Regions from separate parts of the Homo sapiens genome. Here region 2 is linked to region 1. Evidence: promoter capture Hi-C in human tissues and cell types (Jung and others, 2019). All regions are on one chromosome and are shown on one strand. The core of a region is centred on a gene start or on the middle of the fragment in contact, and the rest is flanking DNA. Distances in the headings are between cores, read along the strand shown.

Region 1 (3,697 bases), core at 602-3,101:
AATAGTGCTGATTAATGTTGGCTCAGGTTAATGCTCAGCCTATTACAGTAATTAAATTGTTCACCCATATATCAAACAAGAGTTAATGAAAAATAATTTATTTAGAACGTCGAGGCTTTCTCATAGATTGTTCAAAGACCTATGATAGCCTTTATGGGTCACTTGTAAGAGTAACTGGTGGTAGCAGTCCTCAGCAACAAAAACTCGATTTTAATAGAGGTCTTTAGATGGGGAAACAGTTTATTTCTGAGGCTCTGTGATTGACAGCGGTAGTAATGACACGTTTCAGAATGTGAAAAGTACTTGGTCGATAAAATGATATACACAAGGGCAGCTGATGGCTGTTCCTACAGAACGCCATTGAATTTTGATTCTTAGTTCTTGTCAAGGGGTCATTTTAATCAGAAAGTTAAACTTTTGGGACAAGCTCCCCTCTTTGAAATAGAAGCATTTTAGGAAATGCACAAATAAGTGAATGTGAATTCAACAAACTATTAGGATTTTTCCACTAGCCAAAATAGCTCGTTTGAGTTGGTGATAAAGATAGGTATATTTAAAAGAGCATCATATCTTAATTATTTCCACTATCTTGTCACCCGAAAAGAAAACTGAATTGAGCGGAACTTTAATCTCATAAAAAAAATTTTCATCTCACCAGAAAGGATTAACAATATTTAAGGATTTTCCAAAAACACATTTTTAAAAAGTTTATCTTAAAGTCATCTATCATTATAGTTTCTATTAATAAGCCTCAGTAGAAATATGTATATGTTATGTAATTTAAGTATTTTGAGATTACTATGCAAAGTGCTGACTAGAATGTTCCTCCTACTGAGAACTATATAGCCCCATTATGAACGAACTTCTGTTTTTTTTTTTTTTTTTTGAGGCGGAGTTTCGCTCTTGTTGCCCAGGCTGGAGTGCAGTGGCACGATCTCGGCTCACTGCAACCTCCGCATCCCGGGTCCAAGCGATTCTCCTGCCTCGGCCTCCCGAGTAGCTGGGATTACAGGCGCCGCCTACTAATTTTTTTCTATTTTTAGTAGAGACGGGGTTTCACCATGTTGGCCAGGCTGGTCGAACTTTTTAGTAGTTTCTAGGTGCAATTTTTGTGCGTGTATTTGGGTTTTCACTAAAAATTTCAATTTCTTCTCCGAATTCAATTATTACGTTCTTTATTCCCATGACATTTGTCAGATCGTCTCATTAGAGTGGCTTAGTTTAACTGTCAAGTCTCTAGGGCATTCAATCGCAGAGAAGTGAGTAAAACGCCAGTCTCACAGCGTTTTTATTAACAGATGGCGGAAAACAAACGTCTTTGGAGTAAAACCGAAGAGAATGGGTTAAAGGGTCAATAAACAATTATTATCGTGCTTAAATTGGGGGGCTTCGCATCAGATCCAATGGGGGGCCGCTCGCCCGATCTGGAGGGGCTGGACACCCCCAACCGACCCCAGAGCGTCCCCCAGGGGCCACCTCAGAGGATGGGGTGGTTATCCCCCGGCTGGAAGGCTCCTACAGGCTGTCGAGGGGTCAAACCAGAGTGTCGCGGGTGTGCTTCTGAGGTTAGGGTGGAGGACTAATTGAGGAGGCTGGGAAGTCTAACTCGTGCAGCGGCCCTCGGTGCAGACAGCCGCGTAATTCGGGCATCAGCCTCTTTGGCAAGAAATAGTGAGGTCCCCTCTCCTCCCCACTCTTCTCAGCTGCTGCCTCCCTCCTACGGGTGAATTTTCTCTCCCGAGAAGGGCTGATTTCCTAGGCTTGCTTTCCTTCCCTCGGCAGCGCTCTGACGTGCACACCATGTGACAGGCCCCCTTCTGCTATAAGCCGAGGAAGGTCCGCCCTCTCCTGGACTCAGCCCTGGCCTCGCCGAGCTCTGTTCTTAGACTCTCACCCGTCCCGCACGTTCCTGGGCGCCTGGCGTTCTGATTCGCCCGCCCGGGCCCCGCCACCCCCTCCTCAGCTGACGGGGCAAAAGCTGCTCCGAGAGGAGAAGGTCAAGTCCTCCGCCCGGGCCGGGCGCGAGCGGAGCCCAGGGAGCGCAGCATCCGCGCGGCTACCGCGGCGGCGCAGGAGTTATAAAGTCGGCGCGCGAGACTCCGCCGCCACCCGGCAGCCCCGGCGCAGCTCCGGCAGCCGCAGTCGCAGCGCCCCCAGCGTGGCGCCCCCCGGCCGGGCCTGCCGCCCGGGACCCGGGCTGGGGCGCAGAGGGAGCCCGGAGCCCGGCGCCCCCATGCGCCGCCCCGCCGCCGCCGCGCCACAGCTATGACCCTGAGCACTGAGATGTCCGATGCCTCTGGCCTCGCCGAGGAAACAGACATCGACGTGGTGGGGGAGGGCGAGGACGAAGAAGACGAGGAAGAGGAGGACGACGACGAGGGCGGCGGTGGCGGGCCCCGGCTGGCTGTCCCCGCGCAGCGGCGGCGGCGGCGGCGCTCGTACGCCGGGGAGGACGAGCTGGAGGATCTGGAGGAGGAGGAGGACGACGATGACATCCTGCTGGCCCCGCCTGCTGGGGGCTCCCCGGCGCCCCCGGGCCCGGCCCCGGCGGCGGGGGCAGGAGCCGGTGGGGGCGGCGGCGGCGGCGGCGCGGGCGGCGGCGGGAGCGCGGGTAGCGGCGCCAAGAACCCGCTGGTGAAGCCGCCCTACTCGTATATCGCGCTCATCACTATGGCCATCCTGCAGAGCCCCAAGAAGCGGCTGACGCTGAGCGAGATCTGTGAGTTCATCAGCGGCCGCTTCCCCTACTACCGGGAGAAGTTCCCCGCCTGGCAGAACAGCATCCGCCACAACCTCTCGCTCAACGACTGCTTCGTCAAGATCCCCCGCGAGCCCGGCAACCCGGGCAAGGGCAACTACTGGACGCTGGACCCGGAGTCCGCCGACATGTTCGACAACGGCAGCTTCCTGCGCCGGAGGAAGCGCTTCAAGCGGCAGCCGCTGCTCCCACCCAACGCCGCGGCCGCCGAGTCTCTGCTGCTGCGCGGCGCGGGAGCCGCAGGGGGCGCGGGCGACCCGGCAGCCGCCGCCGCGCTCTTCCCGCCCGCGCCCCCGCCGCCCCCGCATGCCTACGGCTACGGCCCCTACGGCTGCGGCTACGGCCTGCAGCTGCCGCCTTACGCGCCGCCCTCGGCCCTCTTCGCCGCCGCAGCGGCCGCCGCCGCCGCCGCCGCCTTCCACCCGCACTCGCCCCCGCCGCCCCCGCCACCGCACGGCGCGGCCGCCGAGCTGGCCCGGACCGCCTTCGGCTACCGGCCGCACCCGCTCGGCGCCGCCCTACCCGGCCCCCTGCCGGCCTCCGCGGCCAAGGCGGGCGGCCCGGGCGCCTCAGCGCTGGCGCGCTCGCCCTTCTCCATCGAGAGCATCATCGGGGGCAGCTTGGGCCCGGCCGCCGCTGCCGCCGCCGCCGCGCAGGCCGCCGCCGCCGCTCAGGCCTCGCCCTCGCCCTCGCCGGTGGCGGCGCCGCCAGCTCCCGGATCCAGCGGAGGAGGCTGCGCGGCGCAGGCGGCCGTGGGCCCGGCGGCCGCGCTCACCCGATCCCTCGTGGCCGCCGCGGCCGCCGCCGCCTCCTCAGTCTCCTCGTCCGCCGCCTTGGGGACTCTGCACCAAGGGACTGCCCTGTCCAGTGTCGAGAACTTTACTGCTAGGATTTCCAATTGTTAATAACGCTATGTTAGCGCGCTCGAGGAAGAAGGTA
Region 2 (3,697 bases), core at 543-3,042, 110 kb after region 1:
ACTTGAGAACTTTCCTTCCCAAGCCCGTATCCTGCTGGTTCAGGGCAAAGTGTTCAGCTTTCCCACCAGGATCAGTGAGGAAGTGGCCTGGTTTGGACTCAAACAGACTGATTTGTTTTCTCAACAAGGCCTCCGCTCAGTTCAGGGAGCCCCAGTGATGCCCATTTTTCCAGGGTGCCTCTCCCACCCTCCTCCCTCTCCCCGCTCTGAGAACACATCACCTAGTGTCTGTAAGGCTTCTGCTTCTTGTTTGACATCCCTTATTTACAAAGCAAACAGAATGTTCCTTTTAACACACATCATGCTCAGTTTATTAATGCAGAAAACAATCCCAGGGGGCCGACCCAGGGGACCCTTGAAACCTGCCAGCACAAACTCTTCAAACGCTCAGCCCGTCAGATCCTCCAGGACAATATTTCACACAATGGAGTAAAAATAATATTTTTCTTTGGACCTTTCCAGCCGCTTTTGTGGCGAGCAGACAGAAATTATTTTCTTACTCTGCTCCCAGAGCAGAAATCTGGACGAAGCTGCGTTTATTTGTTTAACACAATGATTTCATCCTAAATGTCTCGACAGCAAATAGTTGGTGGTTTAATAAAGGGCCTTTGAAAGGAGGCTGGAGCTGGGGAAATGTGAGGCATGCAGCTCGCAGGGGCCAAGCAGATCGCGGGCTGCTGAGACTGGGTGCCCCCTCCGCCTGCCTGGGAGCCCTGGGGATCGTTGCATGTTATTGCTCCCTGATCAGAACAATTTGTGCCGCTTCCATCCTGGAAAAGGAAGGAGACTGACCTTTTGTTCACGAATCCCGGAACTTCCCCAAGACCAGCCCTGCCAAATACAGACAGACATAACCCAAAAGCAGATACTTGAACCTGCGTGAAGAAAATAGGCCTTTTGTACTTATGTCTGCCTTCCCATGATTAAAAATTATGTCCTGTGTCAGCCAAATGTTGGCTGCTATTCTGGTGCCAGCCCAGAGTTCTGCAGCCAGGGCAGTGATTAGGAGAAGGGAGAGGGATCAGAGCCAGCTCAGGCCTGATTCCCCAGCGAGCAGAACCTACCCAACCAGGGCCAAAGCCCCCAAGCTTTCCAACCTGCAGTTAGAGGTGTCAACAAAAACTCAAAAAACTCATTTGCATTTCACTTCTTTTCCTTGGGAAGAATTGTAAGGGGCAGTGAAACGGAACAAGCAGAACACAGAGGAAAAGAACCAAGAGAAGGTCATGAGTGGCGTAACAATTGCCCAGGCGGCCCCGATTGCAGCTCCATCATTTTACAGCACAGGAGGGAGGCCCAGAGAGGGGCAGTGATATGTCTGAGAGCACAGAGCTATTAGAAGAAGAGCCATTGCTGGAACCAGGCATCTAACCTCCAGGGTTGAAGGGGAAAGGGCCTAATCTAGCCTTACAGCTGACAAAACGAAAAAGCTGAATTATGGGTCTCATTTTTTCCAACTGGGACTTGGTTCAAGGTGATTGGATGTGATTCAGTTCTTGGTGATTTTGGTTCTTGGAATAATTGATTCAGATCTAAATCAGTTCCTGGCTAGAACAGTGAAGAACAGAATATGTTTACACACACACACACAGAGTTATATTTCCAATTATTCACTTATTCATTGAAGAGTGTATAAAAATGCATATATATTTAAAAGACAATTAAAATGACTTATAATAATATATTTCTGGTAACTTATTGATAGATCTCTGCTCAGTCTTTTCTCATTGCTTCTATATGTTTTTATTATATATATATATTTACAAAATTAAGATCTCAACTGCTTTATTTTTAAAATTACATAATTTGTGCTTAATCACTTTCCATATCATTAACAGACTTTCTGAAGTGTGACCTTTGAAATGCTACTTGGCATTTCATCATATGATGTGACTGTCATAATTCTTTTCCCCGTTACCCTAAAGTTGGTCATAGGACAGAATGTCTTTGAGTAAGTCTTGAAGAACAGTCCCTGAAAGACTGATGGGCTGGGTGGGAGGTGGCCTTCAAATTCTTGCAGCAATTTAAATCTCTTTCCTCCACCTCTGAGTGGCTTCAGATTGCTTTCAAATGTAGCTGCCTACCTCACTCCCAGCTCTCTTTTATCTTTTTCATTTCTTCTTTTTTCTACTTTTTTCCTAGACCCAAAACAGACAGATTCCTTACATTTGCATATTTTATAACCTCAAAAAGTTTTTATAGAAATGCACTCATTTAATCTTCATAAAAACCCTACAGCATGGGCAAGGCAGAATGATCCCAGTTTTATATAAAGGAAAAATGAAGCAGGCAAAAAATAAAGGAAAAAAGAATTATCTCAATTTTATATTCAATGAATGTATTTTGAGTGCCAACTATTTGCACTTTGGTAGTCACTTAAGGGAGGGCATAAGTAAGTCCATCCTTATCTCAAGGAATTTTCAGTCTAGTGGGGGCACTTTTAAGGGATTCAGTAGATGACGGCTGTTATTATTTTTGGCTGAAATGACTCGCCTTCTGTCAGGTGATTAGTAAGTGGCTCAGGAAAATGAACCAGTACATCCTCTGCTTTCTGTACTCTACTCCCTACACTATGTGACTGTTAGTCAAGGGTAGGTCCAGAATAGGGGGGATGGTCAGGGTAGGTGGATGATGGGGAACCTTTAGAATTCCCTCTTCTTCTTCATCTCAAGCTCCAGTGAAAAGACTTCACACTTGAGACGCTAAATTCTCCTGAGAGGAGTCAGTCCATGGATTAATGCTTTCTTTGTGCTGGAGGTAGAGATGACAGTATTTATCTTTTGATGAACAAATGGTTGTTTGGGATTTAGCTACTTCTACATCTGTGAAAGGATAAAAAACGAGAAAGGAAATAAAAATTATTAATCATCTCCCATGTACCTGTCTCTGTAGTAGGTGCTTTACATGCATTATTTCATTTAAATTGGAACTCACAAGAAGCCTGTTTTATTCATCATTGTATTACTTTGGACCTAGTGGAATGTTTGCCGCATAATAAGCATTGAATAAATGCTGAACTAATGAATGAATTCTCATTTCACAGATAAGAAAATTGAGGTCTGAGAACTTAGGCAACCAGTACCAGGTTACATAGCTAGTAAGTACTGGAATTGGGATTCAAACCCAGTCTGCCTGGCTCTAGAATTGTGCTTTTCCCACTGCTGCACCCTTGGTAAACTGTGTACATGCTTCAGGCTTTGGATGGACTGTTCAGTTATTATGGATGTGGTGAAAATCCAATTCATCGTGCACGGACTACCTTTGGGTCCATTGTTTCCTCTTTCTACAGTCCTGGCATTTTGCTATGAAGACAGCATTTACTGTTGTGTTTTTGCTGGTTGGCTGTCCTCCTCTAAGCACTGGACACATCTTCCTTATATCATCACTTGCACTGGGGCTCTGGATCCTTTAGAGTGGAGAGTATGTTGTTTTCAGCACTGCAAGAGATATTTTTACATTCTTTTCGGAAATGTGAAGAACTCTGGGCTGAGCACAGTGGCTCACACTTGTAATCCCAGCACTTTGGGAGGCTGAGGTGGGCAGATCACTTGAGGTCAGAAGTTCGAGACCAGCCTGGCCAACACGATAAAATTCGTCTCTACTAAAAATGCAAAAATTAGCTGGGCGTGGTGGCATGCACCTGTAGTCCAGCTACTCAGGAGGCTGAGGCAGGAGAATCGCTTGAACCTGGGAGGTG

What was found. The method cuts DNA at HindIII sites, captures the fragments that hold promoters and counts their contacts. A contact is called where the count stands out against the background at its distance.
Region 2: a fragment that was not itself captured here is called in contact with the fragment with the promoter of FOXD1 in region 1 in 2 of the 25 tissues and cell types used here (IMR-90 fibroblasts and mesenchymal stem cells).

What each region holds. Positions count from the first base shown.
Region 1 is chr5:73,446,931-73,450,627 of GRCh38, reverse strand. FOXD1 (forkhead box D1) reads left to right here and starts at 1,851. Exons shown (of 1, transcript NM_004472.3): 1 at 1,851-3,697. The coding sequence starts at 2,266. The coding sequence ends at 3,663. The HindIII fragment of the contact is 13,220 bases long and covers 1-3,697 here.
Region 2 is chr5:73,335,356-73,339,052 of GRCh38, reverse strand. It overlaps LINC02230 (long intergenic non-protein coding RNA 2230), which reads right to left and starts at 1,147. Exons shown (of 2, transcript NR_146627.1): 1 at 1,098-1,147; 2 at 288-770. The HindIII fragment of the contact is 3,119 bases long and covers 233-3,351 here.